Regions from separate parts of the Homo sapiens genome. Here region 2 is linked to region 1. The links are contacts of gene promoters, found by promoter capture Hi-C in human tissues and cell types (Jung and others, 2019). All regions are on one chromosome and are shown on one strand. The core of a region is centred on a gene start or on the middle of the fragment in contact, and the rest is flanking DNA. Distances in the headings are between cores, read along the strand shown.

What was found. Contacts are between HindIII fragments. The study calls those that stand out against the background at their distance.
Region 2: a fragment that was not itself captured here is called in contact with the fragment with the promoter of TECRL in region 1 in 1 of the 25 tissues and cell types used here (heart left ventricle).

Annotation. Positions count from the first base shown.
Region 1 is chr4:64,406,566-64,411,285 of GRCh38, reverse strand. TECRL (trans-2,3-enoyl-CoA reductase like) reads left to right here and starts at 1,836. Exons shown (of 12, transcript NM_001010874.5): 1 at 1,836-2,168. The coding sequence starts at 1,935. The HindIII fragment of the contact is 12,915 bases long and covers 1-4,720 here.
Region 2 is chr4:64,372,991-64,377,710 of GRCh38, reverse strand. It overlaps TECRL (trans-2,3-enoyl-CoA reductase like), which reads left to right. Exons shown (of 12, transcript NM_001010874.5): 2 at 2,488-2,539. Among named protein-coding and RNA genes, the nearest start is that of TECRL, 34 kb to the left of the region's middle. The HindIII fragment of the contact is 4,172 bases long and covers 399-4,570 here.

The DNA.
Region 1 (4,720 bases), core at 587-3,086:
ACTCCTGACTTGTGATGTGCCCACCTCGGCCTCCCAAAGGGCTGGGATTACAGGCGTGACCCACTGCACCCAGCCAACTATTCCTTTTTTTAAATAAAAAAAAAAAAAATCTGGAGAAACATTATATGAATAGTGTTTAGGTCATTTCAATATAATGCAATAACTTAGCACAATATCATTCTGTTACACATTCAAATTATACTTTTTGGTCATTAATTAATTTATTTAATACTGTTTATGGATCACCAGTCCATATTAGAAACTGTTCTAAATGCTGTAAATAGGTTAGGGGATATGGTCAGAGAGATGTCATAGGGTGCTGGGTGATGCAGAACTTTGCAAACCTTTGCAAATATCTTTGGCTTTTTTTTTTTTTTTAACATAAAATAGAAAGCCCCTGCAGTGTGTTGAGCAGATTAAGTTACCCACTTAATATAGAACCAGGTCACTCCACCTACTGTTTTAAAAATAGACTATTGATTGACTAGTGTTGGGGTAGGAAGAGCAGTTTGGATATGCAATACAGGTGAGATTCATGCTTGGATTGTAACTGTGAACAGATTGTGTAGTGGATCTCTGATGGATTAGATGTGAGGTGTGGGAGAAATGGAGAAGTTAAAGATGATTCCAAGTTTGAAGTGCTGAACAACCAGATGATAAAGTTGCATAATGTGTGCCCACACATACGTGTAAAAAGACACATATCCCTATCATTTATATTTTTGAAAATATAAAATATTGAATGTAATGTAATATAAAATATTAAGTGTCAACATAATAACTGAAGAGTGTAAAGTGAATCTCTAGGGCATAATGTATAATAAAATTAAAAATGAATACATTATTTTAGTTGTTTATAAAAGTAAAGATTAGCCTCAGGTAGATAACAGGTTTCCTCCCCTATATATTTTGTGTCATTTTATTTGTATGTTTTCATTGAAAATCACATTCCAGAATATTTTCCTTTAATATCATTTTGAATCAGTGATAATATGTTTTGGATTTTTTTTTCAGTTGTTTCTTCATCAGATTTACATATCTCAGAGGACTAGGAGTTTTTCTAAAAGCTCTTTTGCCAGGATGTTTTTCAGATTTCATTTTTCATTCTGAGGCTATCTGTATTTTCTATAACATAGTGTTGTGGAAAATGTGATGCTGACTACAGATTTTGTATATCAGTTCAACAGATTTCCAAAGATATACAATGTTAAAATAATGTTTACTTCTTTTTCCCCAGGTTACAAAATTGTTCTCTATCAAATTCTAATCTCATAGTTTGCTATCTTTTCAATGTTTATATGAAGTGAAGAATTCATCATTTTATATTGTGTAACAGTTATTTTAAGTTCGTTGGGATTTGTAATTAGTACTGACAAAAATAAATTTTTCACTTTAGAATGCTTTACATGCACATGCACATATATTTATATATAAAACATATATAAACATATATATGCCACTTCTCTTTACCTTAGACAGGATTTTTTAAATGTTACATAGTAATGTACTAGGACTTTTAAAAATTTAACTTTAAGATAGCACTTTGCTAATGTTAAATACATCTCAATGCAAATGTGTGTGTGTGTTTGAAGATCAGTGCATCCAGAACTCAGAGATGATGAAAATGTTCTGTCTATTCTTGCTTTGGAATTTCAGATAAGAGTAGTCATATTACAAAGCAGAGATAAAAGGAGAAAGCAAGAAATCATTCAATTGCTGGTAAAGTAATACTCTACACAGCAAATCACAATAGCGTGTTATATATAGAAATAAGATCAGTCACTGTTTTCAAGCCTGCTAAATAAAACTGAACTCTTGGAATGGCATACCATTTGACCTTTCAAAGGTTCTCCAGCAGTATTTAACTGATGCAAAAGGAACACACTTGCAATTTTCTACTTTTGACATGACAGACCCTCCTCTTAGTTCACACAATGTTCAAAAGGCACAAGTCCCTCGCTTCGGAACGCAAGAGAGCATTACTTTCCCAAAGAGCTACACGGTTCATACTGAAGGATGATATGAGAAATTTTCACTTTTTGTCAAAACTTGTACTCTCAGCGGGCCCTCTAAGACCAACTCCAGCAGTCAAACATTCAAAAACGACTCACTTTGAGATTGAAATATTTGATGCTCAAACAAGGAAACAGATATGTATTCTGGATAAGGTGAGTTTATTTATTTATTTATTTGTTTGTTTGTTTAAGTGTTTCTTCTCTGCCCCAAATATTATTGATTGCTTGATTAAATTCTAACACGACTGTTCTGAAATACATTTCTGACTTTTACCTTAATTTTGTGGTGAACAGGATGCATACTTTATGCATTGTTTTAATAGAAGATGTTCAATGCATCTCTCATACTCAATTTAAATTAATTAAATGGTAGATAATAATGAGGTTCTGTCATTGGTCTGTGAATTTTATGCTGTCATTGACCATTGTCCACAGGTAAAATTACAAATGCTCAACCTATTTTCCTACATGTAAAATGTCTCCAGGTTTTTGTCTTCGTGTACTTCATTGTATATACAAATTATCATAGAGTTTGATTAGTTTCTATAGAAAATAGTAAGCAAAAGCCACAGTAGTTGTTAGAAGTAACATGTAATATGTCTGAAAAAATTTAATCATTTAAGCATTATTTTGAATTGATTTTATTATTTTTCTTAAAAAGTGACTACCTCACTTTTTATGAAAGTTTACTTGCTTCAAAAACACTATTTAAGTTCATGAAAATAATGTTTTGAAATGTTACTCGTCCAAATCCATATTCACAGGTGTTGCACTAAGGAATGAGAAAATATACTCTTCTTAGGTTAGAAAACTAAATTATAAATATATGTTTATATTTTAGATAAATATATGCATAAATAATATTCCAAGCATTTTCAGTTTTTAATAAATTTGAAAAGTACTATTAACTTAATATGAGAAAGGCATATTTGTACAGGTAATAAAATAGAGCTTGATCTTGTTTTACAAAAATATTGAATACGTTTTTGTTGCTGTGTTCTAAAAATAAAATGCAATCAATCATTCCGTTTTTCCATGTTCTAGCTAGGTCTTTAGAAAAAAGGAAAAAAGAAGCTGTTTAGTCCTTTCTTTAATAATTGCCAAGCACATAATATATAATTTCTTATTCAGTAATTATAACACTATGAGCAGTTTATAAATTGAGTTATATTAACTTTAATTCATAGATGGAAAAGAAAGATTAAGACCTTTTATTAGTGCACACAGGTCATGAATTGAACTAAAAGATCTAAAACCATTTCTGTACAGTTTTAAATCATATGCTTTTTCTATAGTTCTACTGAGGCCATATATAAGCGATGAGTATATATCATACAAAATAGAATTTTGATATATTTATTTCAGGACTTCTATAATTTACTTTTATTTTAGTATCAAGGTGAAGTTTTGAGATTTTTAAATATCATACAAAATATTTAATATTTAAATATATTACACAAATATTTTATATTTAAATATCATAAGAAAAATAAAAAAATAAAATTACTCTTCAGAAGTTGCTAATGTTTATAATATTCCACTATGAAAAACACAAATCTTACAAGAAAAAACACAGTTAAATTCAAGGACACAGTGCAACAAATGGAATGAAAATCAAATAAGTCAAGGATTTCCAAAGACTACAATTCTAAAATGACACTGGTTATTGTGTCCTTTCTGACAGGTGTATAGACCCTGACAGGCAATCCACCTTAAAGTAATGAAAAACTCATGATGTTTAAATGTTCTTTTACTTAATTACACACACACACACACACACACACATGCCAATTAGTTCCTAATTATTTGCCTTACACATTTAAATTTTTTCTTATTCATATTTTATTTGAAGGTAAGACAGGGATTTTTATATTTTTACGTGTTAATTAAATTGTGAAAAAAATTAAACATTTAGAAGAAATGAAATTTAAATATTCATTATTCAGAGATAAGAATTTTGCAATTTTGCATGGGAGTCTCATGTTTGAACTATGAGAGTCCTGACATTTGCATCTCAAGTGGCAGATCTTTATAGAAACTTAGCAGGCTAAATAGAGGATTAACACTGGATAGCTCATAATCCTTTATTGCACAATCACCCCTATATAATGTGCAATTTACTGCATTCAAATCTTTGATGTCTGAGTAGAAGTGGATCTTGCTGTGTCTTGTTTTAGTTTGTAAATTGATAAACTGTTTCATAATAGTGGTGAGACACTTCAGAGAAAAAAGTCTTCTAGATTAATTTTTTTTTTTTGCTTAGTAATTTCTAACATTTTGAATTTGTAAACATAAAAAAGACTGATTTATTTATTATTATTATTATTCCTGATGTTATTTTTCTTAGACAAATTAACAACTTTGTAGTAAGATCATATTAAGTGCCTTTCATTGTACCTGGCTCTACCCAGTGTACAAAAGAAATGTTGCTTATAACTTAGTGCCCGTCTTTCAATACTTACTATGCTGTAAAGTGGTACAATTTACATACCATGTACTTTGGAATTAAGCATATCTGGACTCAATCCCTGTTACATCATTTGTGTCTATCAAGGAGTAAGAAAGTCACTGAATTGCTCATCCCCAAGACCCTTATTTAGAATATGGGTTAATAAAATCATATCAATAAAGTTAATAAATGTTACTTTGGAAACTTCTAGTAGAGTAGGGATAATATATGTTACATGCTTAGAATAGCGCTTTGA
Region 2 (4,720 bases), core at 1,235-3,734, 34 kb after region 1:
GTAGGATAAAGTAATTATAACTCAAATTTTAATTATAATCAGTTAAAATTTAGAAGTAAATTCTTGGTTTAACTAACATCATTTGCCTTGCCTACTCACTATTTTAAGATTCATTTTCTTTTAAGAGGAAGAAACATTAATGAAGGGAATATTAAGGTTTCAAATGTAGGGTTTCAGATAACTCCCATCTGTATAATTATGGAAATGAATAAATTATCACGATGATAGTTTATCCTTTTTAAGATGTTGTAAAACTGACTAAAAAGTGGAAGTTATGATAACTAAACTCCCTGATGAAGCCACTGAGACATCAATTTAGTCATCAGAAGCTCTTATATGCTCAGCTAATTATCATATTTTCCTCTCTTTGTGCTTTCAGTACAACTAAAGGACTGAAAAGAGCAGATCAAGTACAATCCTGTGGCTAATTGAATATATGTCTCAATCATTTAGTAGTTAATTTCTTTCTGATTTATTTTGTCCAAAATTACTGCAGAAAGGGCAGTTCTCAAGAATTTATTCAAAATCAGCACTTTTCTAACAAGTGAAAGTCAAATGAAAATTTTTAGAAATGTTAAGAGTGTATAATACATCCCTATTCCACATGAAGGTTTCGTTCAGGAAAACAATGTTAGTCTTGAAAATAAGCAAATTGAAAGAAAAAAGCATATATCAAATTAGAAGTTTGTCTATTGCATTATTCTGGCGTGGAGAATGGCATACAGCTTTTGCATATCAGATTAAGAAACTTTGATCTTACTCTGGTTTTACGTGTTTGCACTCACAGCTTTATTTTTGACTTCTACAAAAGTTAATTAAAGCTTATTATATGCTCTGTGGTGTACTACATGATAAAACAAAACAAAAGTAACACTAGGTCATTATCCTCAGCTCCATATAGATTAAACAACCAATGCATAATACAAGATAATGTGCCCTCATAAAGTGTGAGAGGAACACATATCAAACTCAAATCGAGGGATTATTGATTATGAAAATTATTTTTTATTTAAAATTACATGGCCCTTGATACAACTAATGGACAAATATTTGTTACTCTGGGGAATATCACGTGGCCTTTACTCCACTCTGTCAGAGAAAGCAACATATAAAGGTGCTGAATGAATAAGAAACATTGAGATAAAACAACGGACACTGTTAAAACAATATTTTAAAAATTAAATTTAAATATTAAAGGTTAATAACCAAAATTAAAATATATGCACAAGTATATAAATATATATTACTCTCTATATAAACTGTTTTTAAATTTTTTTCTAACATCTTTCAGAGAAGAGCATTGCCATGAAATATTTATAACTTTATATACACAGAATGTTTTAGGATCATTTTGCTATTAATAGCATAACACAAATTGAAATACCTGTTACTTTTTAGGGCTTAAATCTTATAACTGTCTTATTTAGTAAATCATATACACACAGGAAATCATAAAAAAAGTTCTGAACAGTATACTGAATGCTTAGTCACAATCCTGTTAAGTAGAAGGCGAAATATGTTAAAATAAATGTATTTGTTGTTATACTTTCAGTGTATAATAAAACATCAAATGTAATGTAACAATTCTTATGGACTATTATGCACCAACATTTTATGCATTTTTTATTTAACCCTTTCAAAACAGTTATAAGGGGATTTTAGTGTAGCATAAATAAATCATGTAGACATATGATTATAATAAATTTCACTAGTATCGTATGCTTATTCAGGGAAAGGAAATATATTTTCTTGAATTATCATAAAATGTCTTTTGAGACAAATTCAGAAAAAAAAGTATTGCGATGGCTTGAAGTATTTGCATGGAACTTTAGTCCTCAATAATTTTTAAATTTAGATGAATAAAAAATATTTTATTCATTTTTTAATTTATAGAGTTTGTTTTAGTAATTTAGTACCAAATATTTTATCAAATTACTATGTACTTAAGGAATCCAAAAAATATATCTCACATGCATTTTAATGGACCTTTAGTACTTTTATTTGGGGATTTAAATAATGTCAGTAGGGGACTTAAGGTGACTTTTGTCTCATAAAATTCTGAGGTAAACATTTCTCTCATTTGTCCATATAAATTAACTTCACATCCTCGGGTACTATTGCTATACATTCTTTTACATTCCTGTGCATTAAGACATATTTTTAATTGATAGTTTTATGAGATGTGGAAAAATACATTGACTATTTTGGACAAAGAAAATTCAAAAATATATCTTAGGGATACAAATTGGATTGAATTAATGTAATAAAGCTATTACTGTTGTATACAAACAAATTTTTTTAAAAAATTATATTGTTACTGATTGCAACATTTCAAGCTTGTCAAAATAGTAATCACTAAAAAGATAAATGAAGCAAAAATTCTTATTGTGTAAGAATTTTATGATATATTTAAACTTTTTTTTCTTAAATGGATAGAAAACAAATTAACAGTTTTTAAAAATAACTCTATTTTCTTTTCCTTTTCAGGTGACACAATCATCTACTATTCATGATGTTAAGCAAAAGTTTCACAAAGCATGTAAGTTTTATATATTATTTAGAATTTACATCATAATGTTTTATTTTCAAATAGGTTTAAATTTTTCTATAAGTGCAATATATGTTAGAGTGTATGAAAACCATAGTTCTACAAGGAGCTCAGGAACAATAGTTTGCTTAATATTTCTTTGGCATAAATATTCTAGCATTTAACTCTAATTGATCCTTTAATCTCCAGCATTTCCAATTTTTCTTCACAAAGTTGTTTTTAATTTATATTTAAACTTAATTTTATTATAACAGGAAACTTTCTATATGTTATAAAGACACATGCACATGTATGTTTATTGTGGCACTATTCACAATAGCAAAGAATTTCAACCAAACCAAATGTCCAACAAAGATAGACTGGATTAAGAAAATGTGGCACATACACACCATGGAATACTATGCAGCCATAAAAAAGGATGAGTTCATGTCCTTTGTAGGGACATGGATGAAGCTGGAAACCATCATTCTCAGCAAACTATTGCAAGGACAAAAAACCAAACACCGCATGTTCTCACTCATAGGTGGGAATTGAACAATGAGAACACATGGACACAGGAAGGGGAACATCACACACCGGGGCCTGTGGTGGGGTGGGGGGAGCGGGGAGGGATAGCATTAGGAGATATACCTAATTCTAAATGACGGGTTAATGGGTGCAGCACACCAACATGGCACATGTATACATATGTAACAAACCTGCACATTGTGCACATGTACCCTAAAACTTAAAGTATAATAATAATAAAAAGAATTTCTGGAAAAAAAAAGAAAACATTAAAAAAGAATCTATGAATAAAAACCTTCCCATAAAGAAAAAAAAGAATATAGAAATAAATTGCAAATGGTGAATGTACCTAAAATTTATAAACATTTGAGTACAATCTATTTAAAATTCGTAATGAAATGGAAAGCCTATGCAGGAAGGAATACAATTGCTTGAAATATGCTTACTCAGTTTAAAATTCTTGAGGAAGGTGATATTTTTTATTTTGCTATAAAGTCATATAGGAATTGGTTATGTTGAACAGTGCCAGAAGAGCACTATAATAAGGGACAAAGAACAAAACCAAAAAGATAAATATATATATATATATATATATATATATATGTATCTACTATATACATATATATATATGTATCTACTATATACTATACTATAGTATAGTAGATATATATATATCTACTATATACTGTATACATATAGTGTGTATGTATAGTATATATATAGTGTATATAGTATATATAAGTATTTTTGGTGTATTTCTACTTAAAATAAATTTATTTTAATAGTTATTTCTATCTTAGCATAAAACATGGATCTCATTAAGCTAGTAATTGAATTGCCACCTTTGTGGCATTACACTGACTTAGACCAATTCTATCTAATAAAGTGTCTCCAGACAGTTTAGATTACAGTAGTAAGTAGGAAGACATTTGAAAATGACTTTTTAATATAAAGTAGAAAGGTGTAACAAGAAGATTGTATGTAAAACAATAATAACAAAGTCTTATTTCTATTGTTGGAAAATGGGTACATGAATCAAAGTCGAGTTTATGTGTAAAAGAATGTGCAGTCACCCTGACAAAAAAGTATTATTTTTATAATAATTTATGTCAACTAATAGACATAACAATTACTTGAAATCTTAAACTTTTAAAGGAACGCGTTTTCTATTTATGTGATTTAGAGCCTGCTTCTAATACTTAGGAAACTGAAGTTAAGTAAGCAGCTTACAAAAAATCCTAGAAATGTCCTGTTGCAAAAGTAGATAGCTGACAATATGACAATAGTATAGTTAGTTTCAATAGTTATATCAGGGCAAGAATTATTGATAGCTATTATTTTATTTTCCTTTGTAAGTACTAATCTTTAACAGCTTTACTTAAATAGTGACTTTTTTCACTTTTTCAAAATTATCTTTATTTTAATATTATTTCAATCATCTAAAATATAAAAATAATATTTCAGCATTTTCCCATATATCATAGTGTATTTCAAAATTTTATTGATCTTTAGGTTTTACAAATTGAAGACACACAAAAACACTTTTTGCTGCATTACATTATATAAAGTATTTAAAAGAATGTATTTGCCAATTTTTGAAAGACATTGAAAAACATTGCTAATCCTGAAAAATCTGTAAACATATGGACATTAGTAAAAAGAACT